2 separate regions of the Homo sapiens genome follow, and region 2 is linked to region 1. Evidence: promoter capture Hi-C in 16 types of primary human blood cells and fetal thymus (Javierre and others, 2016). All regions are on one chromosome and are shown on one strand. The core of a region is centred on a gene start or on the middle of the fragment in contact, and the rest is flanking DNA. Distances in the headings are between cores, read along the strand shown.

Region 1 (7,081 bases), core at 4,052-6,551:
TACAGGCTGAAGTCAAATTCCCTGGGTTCAGATCCCAGCTCCATTAGTTGGGTAACTCTGGAAGAGTTCCTAAGTCCCCGGACACTTTCCTCATCAGTAAAATTGGAATAAGTAACCTTTCCACCTCAAAAGGCTGTCATGAGGATTTAAATGATACAGTATGTGTAAAGTGCTTGACACACAGTGTAGGAGCTCAATAAGTATTAGCAGCTTTATTTATTTATTTATTTATTTATTTATTTATTTATTTATTGAGACAGAGTCTTGCTCTGTTGCCCAGGCTGGAATGCAATGGCACCATCTCGGCTCACTGCAACCTCCACTTCCTGGGTTCAAGCGATTATCCTGCCTCAGCCTCCTGAGTAGTTGGGATTACAGGCACTCGCCACCATGCCCAGCTAATTTTTCTATTTTTAGTAGAGACGGGGTTTCACCATGTTGGTCACGCTGGTCTTGAACTTCTGACCTCAGGTGATCCACCCGCCTTGGTCTCCCAAAGTGCTGGGATTACAGGCATGAGCCACCATGCCCAGCCTATATTAGCAGCTTTATTATCATACCCGCCCCCTACCACTTCAAGACCTCATGAACTTCTTTTTTTTTTTTCTTATTGGTAAATTTTCTGTTGACTACAAAGTCAAAGACACAGGACCTTATCTTTTGCCCAGACTCTTGCAATAATGTCCCAAACTGGCCCCTCTGCTACGGGTCTCTCTTAACCACAATGCTACCCACTGCTCTCAACTATCTTCATATATGCACAAGAGTCAGACCTTATACAGGACTTTGACAGCAAGATTTGTTAAGACAGACAAAGAAATGTAACAAGGTATATTTATGATAGGAAATATTTTATATCACTAAACTAAATGGGATAAAAAGGAGAATAATAGTTGAGAAGATTGAAGTGATAAACTGACACTAGGAAGTGGGCCTTGAATTCCAAATTCAAGAGTTTAGTAAGAGTGTCACAAGAGGTTTTGCATCTACCATTTCCCCCAAAGGATTTAAGAGAACAGAACATTTAAAGAAAATTCTGTAAAATCTTTGCTTAAATGGGTTAAGCTCTTCAAATATAGAAAAGGCACAGATAGTTGAACTACTTCCTCCTTTGGAATTTGGATTATCGATTTAGTGTTTCAAATTCATCTATAAAAATGTATTCTTCATTTAATCAAACCTGTATCTGCATCTTCCACAAAATAAACTATTAAAATTTGGGCTATTTGTAATACTTTTGTAATACTACTGTAAAGAGAAGAAAATGATTCAAGGCTCCTAAGACTTCAAATTAAGTAAATATTCCATATTTGCTTTCTAGGTATTACAACATCAGTGTTTTTTTTTTAAGTTCAATTACTTCATTCTATGCTCACATTTCTAGCTATCATTTTAAATGACTTTTACAACATATGGTTATAAAATTGACTACTTTTTCAGTACATCAAAAGTTAGAAAGTTTCTAATAGAAAACACCAAATCAGTGCCTGAAGACCCTGTAAGTCATTGTTAAAGGAGTGATTTTAGTAAATCATATTGAAAGCTGGGCTGATTTTTTGAACAACTAAATATAATTAGGTAATACCTTTGAAATATGCTATCTATTAACCTTTCCTGCATAAGTGTATCTGCAGCAAATAAAGAATATTTACATCAAAAAAATTCCTAATTTTTTTCTATTCACTCCATATAAATTTGTTTTGAAAGACTGTTGATAAAGAATAAACAAAATGTACAAACATAACATTCTTAATAATGTATTAATATATTGTTACTAAGTCACTCAAGGTCTTCTAAACTTGTTTTTCATCCCATTTGAATATGGTCTTTTCATCCATTCCAACTGCTGCCAAGGCAAATGTAATAGCCAACAATATCATCTATCTGAAAATGAATTAAGATTTGTACAATTTTTAAAGAAAAAATTAGACTTCAATATGTACTATGTGCACATTTTTCACACCTGCAGATAAAACGGTTACTCTGCAGAACGGTATAGAGTAATAAGCAAAGGCTTCAGAGTCAGACATGCAGAACACATCACTTGCCAGATGTTTAATCTTGTGCAAATTAATCTGTGAGCCAGTTACCTTATCTGCAAAATGAGAACAGTATCTACAGGGTTGCTGCAGGAATAAATGAAGTAATGTATTCAGAGTGCTGGGTATCTAACAGCAGTGTTCCACCTCCACCAATACCTTTACCCTTTTGAGTCAGACCTCAAATCAAAACTCACTTCTGCCACTTACTAACACTGTGATAGTAGGAAAGTTAACCTCTCTATGCACTGATTTCCTCCTATTTTTTAAATGGGGAACACACTACCTACATCAGAGACTTGTTATCAATCTCTAACGTACAACTTACTGCAAAGCATCCAGCAGAGTGCCTGGCAGACATCAGATTCCACTGATACTAGATTCCCTTCATTTCCTTTCTTCTTCAGGTGTGTTCAATATGTTCAAGTGGTCTAGAATCTACGAACCTGCCTGACACATACCCAGAAAGTAGGCCATTTTCTAGCTGGAAGCTTTTGTGTATGCATGGCAAAATTTTGATATCTGTATCCTATAAGTATCCTCTCAGTTCCAGATGGAAAGAAAATATTTCTCTTATTCCCTTTGCCTTCCACTTTATACATACTACTTTTCCACATAGGTGACTATGTAAATTTCCCTCTTTCCATGTTTTCTAAGCACTTAAATAGCCTTGATTTGCCATCCAAATAGATACCGGCTTCAGTGTGCTGCTTAAGTTAAAACCAAAATACATCTATTATTCTCACTGCTTATATCAGTGGTGCCAGAATGTTTTTATATAAAGGCAGTAACACTTTGTGTTTCTTCCTATGAGTTACGCTAGACATTCAATTTCAAAGAGATGTTTAAAATTTAAATAATTTGAAAAGGATTTACTATATTTATTCCTGATGCCAGCTTAATATCAAAGCATAAAAATTCAAGTAAAATTAAGGCTGCCATAAACATAAAATCACATCAATGTCAAGTTTCCCCAAAAACAAATTCAAATCATTTTCCAAACACTGAGATTAATCTGCTATTTAAGTAGGATGTGTAAGTCCTGAAAATACTCAGCTGTGTAAGTTTAAGCAGTAAAACTGAACTAAACCATTTACCAAAACATTACATAGTCCTAAAATTGGAAATTAGTCACCCTCCCCCTGAAAAACCCTATATTTAACATGTGGAAATTTGTGAGTACTAGGGAACTTTTCAACAAATATTTCATATATCTAAACTTCATTAACTAGGGAACAGAAATCTTGTAAAATTACTCTTAAAAGTTACCAAATTACAGAAGCATCTTCCAATGAAAAGCAGCTCTCTAATTTTTTTAACATTTCACAACATGGGCTCCTAAAGCAACACTAAAGAATCATAACGGGAGGCCCTTTTCCTGTTATTTTGCAAAGACTGGGTTATGGAGGGAGTGTTTAACTGCTACTGTACTATACAATTTCTGTGTCAACAGCACACGCCTTCGAAAAACTCATCTATTAAAAAACTTCCCAAAGTAGGGAGTTTTTGTTTCTTTTAATTTATGAAGCCAAAATACATTTGGAAAAAAGAATATGCCTCACTGATAATATGAAATGAAAACTGCACCCTACAGTCAGCAAACTGAACGCTGGTTTTAAATAACTGATTTAATAAGAACTTAACATGCGTGCAGAAGGCTGATACAGCCTTAAAGAATGACAACAAAAATTAATACTGCACTCGACACAGGCCACCTTACATCCAACGGAGCCTGAATAGCAGCCATCATTACAAATGTCAAAATCAATATAGTACTATGCACCATCCACCTTCTTGCAATAATAAAGAAACCAACTCAGATTTCTTGGTGGTGTAATCACAATTATGACTGAGGCAGAAATGTACGCAACACAATGAAGAAAATACCACAAATCAAAACCACTCTATGTAAAAACATAAAATTGCTCACTGGGGGATGGGGGGGACATTTTGCCATCCAATAAAAGGAATCTGGCCAAATCCCACCTGACCATTCACGTGCCCTTCATTGAAGACCAAACCTGCTTTCCTTATTTCTCCTTTCTTTCTCTTCCTAGCCTCCCATCATCTCCCTTAACCTGTACGAGAAGACAGGCACGGGGAGGGAGGGATTCGAGAATCGGGAACAAAAACCGAGATGTGGACCACATCAGGAGGAAGAGGGGAGGGAAAGGGTGACACCACTAACCTGTCCCAAAGGCTTTGGCCACCAGCCAGGCCAGATTGCAGGCGATTTTGGCCCTGGAGAAATCATAGTGGTCAAAAGGCTTGATGGCTGGAACAATGAACGTCTTTCTCATCTCCCTGGGGTCTGCAGCATCCCCCATCTTTCACCGCGGCTCCTCGGGATGTCCCGGCCCTAACCTTCACATGGCGTGGCCTCGCCACCACGGGGGTCGGGAGGGAGGGAGAAGCAAGCTCAAACCATCGGGGCCCGGGCGATGTCCGCCCGGGCGCCGACGGAGGAGAAGCTCAGCTGTCCGCGCCGCGCGCCTGCCGCCTCCCGCGGGAGCCGCCGCCGCCGCCGCCGCCGCTCCCGGGCATAGGAATGTGGCGGCGCCGTCTCCGTCCGTCCGTCCGCGCGAGGTCCGCCCCGTGCCCGCGCCCCTCCGAGCCACCCGCCCCGCGAGCCCGCGTGTGAGCGAGGCCGCCTCCCCTTTGTCTCGGTTTAGTCACACGGGCTTGGGGGAGGGTGGAGGCTGGAAGGGCCCGGAATTTTAAGGGAGGGGGGATGGGGGGAGCCTTCAACAATCACGTTGTGGAAAATGTCCCCGCCATCGCGATGCCCGCACGCCCTCGCCTCCCTCTCCCCTTCCCTCGGAGCGGGGAGACCCCTCAGGCCCCGGGTGGGCGGAGGGACGAGCAGGACGAGGGGGAAGCGCGGGGCGAGCTGGCCCACCCAGCGCAGCCCGGCCCCTGCCCGCCGGAGACGCAGCAGCGGAAAACGTCAAAATCACTGCGGCTCACAGGCCGCCGCCGGCCCGTCCCCTCCTCTGTGCTCCCTCCCGTCGCCGTCTCCTCCTTCCCCTGCCGCCGTCGCCGCTGCCGTCTCCCGGGTCTTCCTCCCTTGCTGACGGCGAAGGTGGTGGCCGGGGAGAGGCCGCGAATCCCAAGCTCTCAGTTCCTGTCTTATCAGTAATGTCCTTGTAATTTTTTCCTGCCCCCCTTTCTGCAGCTCGCTGGATCGTTCCCCCTCAGCCGCCGCCGCCGCCGCTGCGGTTTTCCGGCTGCGGCACTGGATGAAGGAGCAGATGCGGAGACTGAGCATGCGCCTTCGCGCGGCTCCGACCCACCCCCCCCAACCCCCGCCCCCGCCCCCGCCCCCTCCCCGCTTCCCTCCCGTCTCCGGCCCACTGAGCATGCCCAGCCTCGCTCCCCGCCCGCGCCCGGGATTCGGGGCGGCTGCCTTTTAATCATCGCTCTGGAGTACTCGCTTCAGTGGACATCCTCCACGTCCCTGGCTTTTGGCTGCTGCTGCCTGCACTGCTGAGAGAGGAAAAGGAAGGGAGGGAGGAGGGAGAGGCCTGGCAATAGCTTTCGTATTCTACTTACACAGTGCTTCATCGAAAAGAGTTGATATTTACTTAAAATGTTCATTATGTGACACACACTTTGCAGCGAACTTGACCTGCACTATCTCATTTAGCCCTCGCAATAATCCTGAGAGGTAGATGTCATTGCTGATTGTCCACGAAAGAGAGGTGGAGTTGATTAGGTCATACATGGAACTTAACCAGGATTGAGGATCTGTGGGGGCTCCAAACCTGTGTTAATTTCATGATATCGAGATATTTTCTTAACTCAGTGCTCTCCACTTAAATTTTATCTCTGAGAGGGCACACGTCCAACAATGCCTCCCCATTCTCTCAGAAAAGAGCATAAATTCTTTCACAAAACAAGCTAATGCCCTTTGTGATCTGGCATCTACAGGCCTTTATAGCTTCATTTTGTCAGAACTGCTCTCTATTTTCTTCAATGAGCATGCCTTCTCAGATCTCTACCTCCTTGCTCAGGGTGGTTCCTCTGTCCACCCAGCTTACTCCTACTGCACCTTCAAACTCCACAGTAGTCACTTCCTCCATGAAGCCTTCCCTGACAGCTGCTGACAACTTTCCAGTCAGGGCTGTCACACAGGTGCCTCCCCTGTTGTTCCCGGAGCACCCTGTTCTTATTTCTGTCGTAGCATCTGTCACATCGTGTGGCAATAATCAGTTACTTGTCGGTTTTTCCCATTGATGACATGATGACAGGGTATATCTCCAGCAGCTATACGGTGCCCAGCCCCATAGTATAATTGCTCAATTAATGGACTACATGTGAATATTATCAAAGTTAACACATACTGAGCTTACTTAAATCACTAGCTCCTCACGTCTCATTTTAATACATTATCTAATTTTATTTTTAAGTGATTGTTGTTGTTATTATTATTATTATTGAGACGGAGTCTTGTTAAGTCGCCCAGGCTGGAGAGTGGTGGCAAGATCTCAGCTCAGTGCAATCTCCACCTTTAGGGCTCAAGCGATTCTCCTGCCTCAGCCTCCTGAGTAGCTGGGACTACAGGCGCGCACCACCACGCCCAGCTGATTTTTTGTGTATTTAGTAGAGATGGGGTTTCACCATGTTGACCAGGCTGCTCTCGAACTCCTGACCTCAGGTGATCCGCCAACCTCAGCCTTCCAAAGCGCTGGGATTACAGATGTGAGCCACTGCGCCCAGCCTATTATTATTATTTTTTGAGACAGGGTCTTGCTTTGTTGCCCTGGCTGGAATACAATGGCAAAATCACAGCTCACTGCAGTCTCAACCTCCCAGGCTCAAGCAATCCTCCCATCTCAGACTCCCATATAGCTGGGATTACAGGCACACATCACCACACCCAGCTAATTTTGTTTATTTTTTGTAGAGATGAGGTCTCCCTATGTTGCCCAGGCTAGTCTCAAACTCCTGGACTCAAGGGATCCTCCCACCTCAGCCTCCCAAAGCGCTAGCATTATCTAATTTTAATCATTATAAAATCCTGTATTATCTTCATTATACAG
Region 2 (6,879 bases), core at 4,314-6,813, 150 kb after region 1:
TCTTTAGAAAGGGTACGTAGATCAGTTTTACTGGAAGCAGTTTATATGAGATCATAAGGAGATACAATTGGAAAGATATGTTATGATTAGTTTATGAAGGACTTGATTTCCAGGCCAAGGAAATTAAGTTTTATCCTGTAGGAAGTGAGAAGCTGTTAAAAAGTGACCAGGGAATTTACATTTTGAGAGCACCCTTTCGAGAGAATTAACCTGGCATAGGATATAAGATGGATTGAAAACAGAAGCTGTTGACGGTGATCAAGAGGCTGCTTCAGTAGTTTTGGTGTGAGTTGACAGGGGCCTGTGGTGAAGGCAATGAAGATGCAACAAAACAAACTGATCTATTCTAAAGACGGTCAGTCAATAAGAAGACACAATTTGGTGATGATAGATTGATGTATGAGTAGACTGAGGATGGTGAAGGACAAAGAAGGTAGGGAGGTCACAAAGGAGAGATTCTAAGGAAGGAGGAGAGAGTCTAAAAAACCTTTATGGCCGGGCACGGTGGCTCACGCCTGTAATTCCAGCACTTTGGGAGGCTGAGGCGGGTGGATCACCTGAGGTCAGGAGTTCGAGACCAGCCTGATCAACATGACGAAACCCTATCTCTACTAAAAATACAAAAATTAGCCGGGCGTGGTGGCATGCGCCTGTAGTCTCAGCTACTTGGGAGGCTGAAGCAGGAGAATCGTTTGAACCCAGGAGGCAGAGGTTGCAGTGAGCCGAGATCGTGCCACTGCACTCCAGCCTGGGTGACACAGCGAGACTCTGTCTCAAAAAAATAAAAATAAAAAAATAAATAAATAACCTTTAATTTAGTGAGACTTCATATAGAATTGTTTTAATGTTTAATATAGACCATTTGTTTTAGGTGAATTTAACAATTTCATACTGTGATTAAGATTAATTTCTTTTTCTGACTTCTACCAGAAAGCAGGAATTATGTTTCAAATGGACAATCATTTACCAAACCTTGTTAATCTGAATGAAGATCCACAACTATCTGAGATGCTGCTATATATGATAAAAGAAGGAACAACTACAGTTGGAAAGTATAAACCAAACTCAAGCCATGATATTCAGTTATCTGGGGTGCTGATTGCTGATGATCATTGGTATGTTAATCCTCTAAAAAAAAAGAAAAGGCACCTGTTCTATATCTTGATAACATGTGGTTTCCTTCATATGGCATATTCGTTGATACTGATCGTTTGGTAGAATTCTTCAAACCCATTGTTTAGTCAGGAAAAACATACATTCTGAGTGTGTTATAAGGATGATAGGTCAGTTACTCTCAATATAAAGTACAGTGTAATGCTCTCTCTGTTTTTGTTTTGGCATACTTGATCTGTTGATTGAAGAATAATTTATTTTCTTGCAATTATAATGATGCACATGCAAGTAAACTATCTATCTTACATAACAGAATTTTTGGTTGGATTGACCAATTTAAAAATGTTACTTTATGTGAATTTTGTTCATATGAATGGAATACTTGTATATATTGTTGGAATGATAGCGTATGTAAACTTTTTTGACTCTGCATTGTGTTTCCAAGATTTGTGTACATTGGTTCCTGTTTTATTTTCACTGCTATGAAGTATTCCATTGTATGAGTTTATCTCTTATAAAGTTTAGGAAGTGCTTTTAAATTGTATGTCTGAGAGTAGAGATACTAGGTTGTAGAATATGTGCATATTCAACTTTAGTAGCTAATTTCAAATTATTTTCCAAAATGAATTTTTACTCCCATTGGCCTTGAGAATACCTGTTACTCCACATCGTTGCCAATACTTAGTACTGTCAGACTTTATGCCAATCTGATGAACACTAAATAGTATATCATTATGGATTCATTTTACATTTCTTTGATTAATAATAAGGTTGAACATCTTTTCATGTGTTGATTGGCCATTTTTGTTTACTATTGTAACTTGCCTCTTCATATCTTTTGTTGATTTTTCAACTGATTTGCTTATTTCTTAATAATTTGTAGGAGTTGCCAATCTTTCGTGAGCTTTTTGGTATAAATATCTTTTTTTCTAACGTGTAACATCTTTTTACTCTCTCTGGTGCCTTTGATTGATTGAAGTTCTTAATTTTATTGTAGTACCTGGCATCAGTCTTTTCCTTTATGATTGTCAGTTTTTATGTCTTAAAGAAAGAATGTTCTGGCTGGGCGTGGTGGCTTATGCCTGTAATCCTAGCACAGGTGTGTGGGCTCAGGAGTTTGAGTCCAGCCTGGGCAACATGGTGAAACCCTGTCTCTACTAAAAATACAAAAAATTTTCTGGGCGTGGTGGTACCTGCCTGTAATCCCAGCTACTCAGGAGGCTGAGGCATGAGAATCGCTTGAACCTAGGAGGTGGATGTTGCAGTGTGCCGAGATCATCATGCCACTGTACTTCAGCCTGAGTGACAGAGCGAGACTATGTCTCAAAAAAAAAAAAAAAAAAAAAAAAAGAGAGAGAGAGAGATAGAGTGTTCTGGCCAGGTGCGGTGGCTCACGCCTATAATCCTAACAGTTTGGGAGGCTGAGGCGGCAGATTACTTGAGACCAGGAGTTCAACATCAGCCTGGCCAACATGGTGAAACCTCATCTCTACTGAAAATACAAAAATTAGCCCGGCATGGTGGTGGGCACCTATAGTCTCAGCTACTTGGGAGGCTGAGGCATAAGAATCACTTGAACCTGGGAGGTGGAAGCTACAGTGAGCCAAGATGACTCTGCTATACTCCACCCTAGGCAATAGAGTGAGACTCTAACTCAAAAAAAAAAAAAAAAAAAAAGACTGTTGTACATTGAGGTCATAGAGATGTTCTAAATTTTCTTCTAGATGTTTTGAAGTTTTGCTTTCACATTTAAGTTATTGAATGTCTGGAATTTTTTATTTGGTGTGAATTAGGGATCTAAATTCATTTATTTTCCACATGAATAGCCATTTCTCCCAGTACCAAATATTAAATAGTTTATTGCTTCTTTTGGAATCTGTAGTGCTCCTACAAAAAATTTCTAAAAATATCAGAATCTGTTTCTTCCTACTAATACCCCATGGTCGTAATTACTTGAGCTTTGTAATGAATCTTTATTTATTTATTTTTTGATTTCAGAGTTTTGCTCTGTTGCCCAGGCTGGAGTGTAGTGGCACCATCTCAGCTCACTGCAACCTCCTGGAGTCGAGCAATTCTCCTGCTTCAGCCTCCTGAGTAGCTGGGATTGCAGATGTCTGTTACCACGCCTGGCTAATTGTTGTATTTTTAGTAGAGATGGGGTTTCACCATGTTGGCCAGGCTGGTCTCAAACTCCCACCTCAGGTGATCCGCCCACCTTGACCTCCCAAAGTGCTGGGATTACAGGTGTGAGCTACCACGACCGGCCTGTAATGAATCTTTATATCTTTTTTTTTTTTTTTTTTTTTGGAGATGGAGTCTCACTCTATCACCCAGGCTGGAGTGCAGTAGTGTGATCTTGGCTCACCGTAACCTCCACCTTCTGGGTTCAAGCGATTCTCGTGCCTCAGCCTCCTGAGTAGCAGCCACCATGCCCAGCTAGTTTTTTGTATTTTTAGTAGAGACGATTTCATCATGTTGGCCAGGCTCGTCTTGAACTCCTGACCTCAGGTGATCCACCCACCTTGGCCTCCCAAAGTACTGGGATTACAGACGTGAGCCACTGCACCTGGCCATGAATCTTTATATCTGTTAGGGCATATCCTTTTGTTCTTTAGGTTCTTTTGCTCTTTTATTAATTAATTATTTTCTTTAACAAATAAATACAGTATTATTAACATCTGTGGCAAAGATACAGAACATGCTCCCAAAGAGTTAAGAGTCCAGTAAGGAACTTGGAAGCCTCTTGCTTGCCTCTAACTCTCTACTTCCATTTTTCGTACCTTCCTCAGTTTATCTTGTTCACTAGACCATGAACTTTATGAAAGCTGATTTCATGTCTGTCTTCATTGCTGACACATAACTGGCTCTTGGAGGCTTAATGAATAAAAGAACTTCATGGCTGAGGCTGGTCATGTGAAAGAGAAAAAAAGAACTTCAGTATCTATTAATGCATATTAAGTGTTATGAGTACTGCATACTTACTGCTTAGAAGTGAAGAGAAGGAAGAGTTGACTTCTAACTTAAACCCTAAAGAACAGCTTCTTAGAGGACTCTAAATTGGGCCTTCAAGAATGGTTGCAAGAAGGGAGAGGATGTCCTATCTGGAAGGAATGACTCAAGGAAAGGAGGAAAGCTGACATTAAGGCAAATTCAGAGTATTCATATGGTTGATTAAGTGTGAAATGGGGTTCTTATGGGAAAATAGTGGCAGATGAGGGAGGTTGGTGGTTGAAGCCAGATTGTGGGGCGTCCAGAATGGTAGGCCATGGAATTTTGAGAGCAGAGTAGATAGAATTAGGAGAGGAAAGGGATCAGAACAAGTACACATTGTATAAACCTTCACCTGGATAAGACACTAGACTGGTAGGAGGGATGTAGTGCCTAAGGGTGAACTATTGTTTCCATGTACTTTTCTCTAGATGCTTTAATTAAACTATTATTCTCTAATCACAGATCTTGGAGCCTAATCCACAGCTAAAAAGATCTTTGGTTAGGACTCAGCTTTTGTTGCAGTTTTTCTTTCTATCCCGTTAATCCAAAGATGAATTGGACTTTGGAGTTTCTTTCCTATTCTCTGAATAAAAAGACTCAAATATGTAGCACTTATAGCTGATTTTCCACAGTATCACCTTATCATCCAGTAAATTAGATGTCTTAAGGGGTACACTTTGATCTCCATGTTTTTCCTTCCTCTGTAGTACCCTACTTTTCAAAAGGGGAGAAATATTTGTTCTTTCTGTTATTAAAGCTCATATGTAAAACCAGAAGCTTAGAAAATTAAAAAAACACTTAAAACTGTTTTATTCATAAGAAATCACTGGCAGTATGTTAATGTTTTTTGCTAGTTTTTTTTTTTTTTTTTTTTTTTTTGAATTTTTGGGGGAAGGTTTTTGTTTTCAAAGAAGTTATAATAAAAATACACCCAATGAAGAATGTTCCCACCACAGGTGGATCGGATTGCTAGAGGCCAGGCTTTTTTCACCAAACTTCAAAATCTAATTGGAGGCTCGATGCAGTGGCTCATGCCTGTAATCCCAGCATTTTGGGAGGCCGAGGCAGGTGGATCACTTGAGGTCAGGAATTAGAGACCAGCCTGGCGAACATGGCAAAACCCCATCTCTACTAAAATGCAAACATTAGCTGGGCAGGGCATGGTGGTGGGTGCCTGTAATCCTAGCTACTCAGGCAGCTGAGGCAGGAGAATTGCTTGAACCCAGGAGGTGGAGCTTGCAGTGAGCTGAGATTGTATCACTACACTCCAGCCTGGGCGACAGAGCAAGACTCCGTCTCAAAAAAAAAAAAAAAAAAAAACTAGTTGGAGGAAAATAAAATAATTTTAAATTATTGTTACATATTGGTATGAATCTTAACACCAAAGGAATAGCCCAAGCAGAATTATCCCATATTGCCTTTTTCTTACTTTTTAGTGTGTTCTATAATTGTTAACTATGTGCTTCTTATTTTAACAGTACTATCAAAAATTTTGGTGGGACAGTGAGTATTATCCCAGTTGGGGAAGCAAAGACATATGTAAATGGAAAACATATTTTGGAAATCACAGTATTACGTCATGTAAGTGGATGGGTGCTATAATATAAGAAACTGTTCGACTTTGGATAAGTCATTTAATTTCTTTGAGTTCTGGTTTTCTCTATAAGATAAGGGTGTTGAAGCAGATTAAGGACTTTTTCATTTCAAAAATTCTTTTTCCTATTAATTGCTTTCTTGTGCAAAGACAAAAGTTACATTTATATGAATCAGTACCTGAAGAGCTGACCACTAATAGCATCATTATGTGTCCTATAAAGAGCTAGGCTTTAGAATCAGACAGACAGGGTTGAAATCCTGGCTTTGCCATTTGCTCTGTGACGTCTGGCAAGTTATTTAACTAGATGATTAAACAATGTCACCCAAGTCAGGACACTTTTGAGATCATTATTAATAATTACATCAAGAGAACAAACATCAGCAGTGTGTTACAGGCAAACCCAGACCTATTGTGACTCTATATATCCTGCCTTTCAGAGATAGTGAAGGATTAACTGAAATAATAATTTGTGTATATAGTTCTTAGAATAGTATCTGCAAATAGTAAGCTCTCAATGAATGTCTCTTGTTATTATTAAGCTTTGTGCTGTTTAGTTTCCTCATTCCTAAAATTGGGATGATTATATGTATCTCACTGAGTTGTTGTGAATCGTAAATGAGATAACATAAAGTCTTGCACTTCATAATGATGTTTTGGGCAATGAGGGACCACATATGTAACAGTGGTCCCATAAGATTATAATACTGTATTTTTACTGTATTTTTTTCTGTTTAGATATACAATTATTTACCATTGTGTTATAGTTGCCTATGGTATTCAGTACAGTAACATGCTGTACAGGTTTGTAACCTAGGAGCAATAGGCTATGCCATATAGCCTAAGTGTGTAGTAGGCTATACCATCCAGGTTTGTGTAAGTACATTCCATGATATTCACACAACTATGAAATCACCTAACAGTGTACTTCTCAGAACATATCCCTGTTGTTAAGAGACATATGACTATATGTGTAATGTGCTTAATGCAGTGTTTGGTATATACAAAGTAATAAACGTTGGGAGGCCAAGGTGGGTGGATCATGAGGTCAGGAGTTCGAGACCAGCCTAGCCAACATGGTGAAACCCCATCTCTACTAAAAATGCAAAAATTAGCTGGGTGTGGTGGCACACGCCTGTAATCCCAGCAGCTCGGGAGGCTGAGGCAGGAGAATTGCTTGA

The links. Contacts are between HindIII fragments. The CHiCAGO score rates a contact against its expected background, and 5 or more counts as called.
Region 2: a contact is called between a fragment that was not itself captured here and the fragment with the promoter of CAMSAP2 in region 1, in 1 of 17 cell types (monocytes). The highest score is 5.3, in monocytes.

What each region holds. Positions count from the first base shown.
Region 1 is chr1:200,737,113-200,744,193 of GRCh38, reverse strand. It overlaps CAMSAP2 (calmodulin regulated spectrin associated protein family member 2), which reads right to left and starts at 5,301. Exons shown (of 17, transcript NM_203459.4): 1 at 4,228-5,301. The coding sequence starts at 4,366. RefSeq lists silencers at 647-847, 4,492-4,561, 4,592-4,951 and an enhancer at 5,592-5,671. The HindIII fragment of the contact is 5,817 bases long and covers 2,533-7,081 here.
Region 2 is chr1:200,592,473-200,599,351 of GRCh38, reverse strand. It overlaps KIF14 (kinesin family member 14), which reads left to right. Exons shown (of 30, transcript NM_014875.3): 14 at 931-1,115; 15 at 5,583-5,685. Among named protein-coding and RNA genes, the nearest start is that of KIF14, 25 kb to the left of the region's middle. The HindIII fragment of the contact is 1,359 bases long and covers 4,884-6,242 here.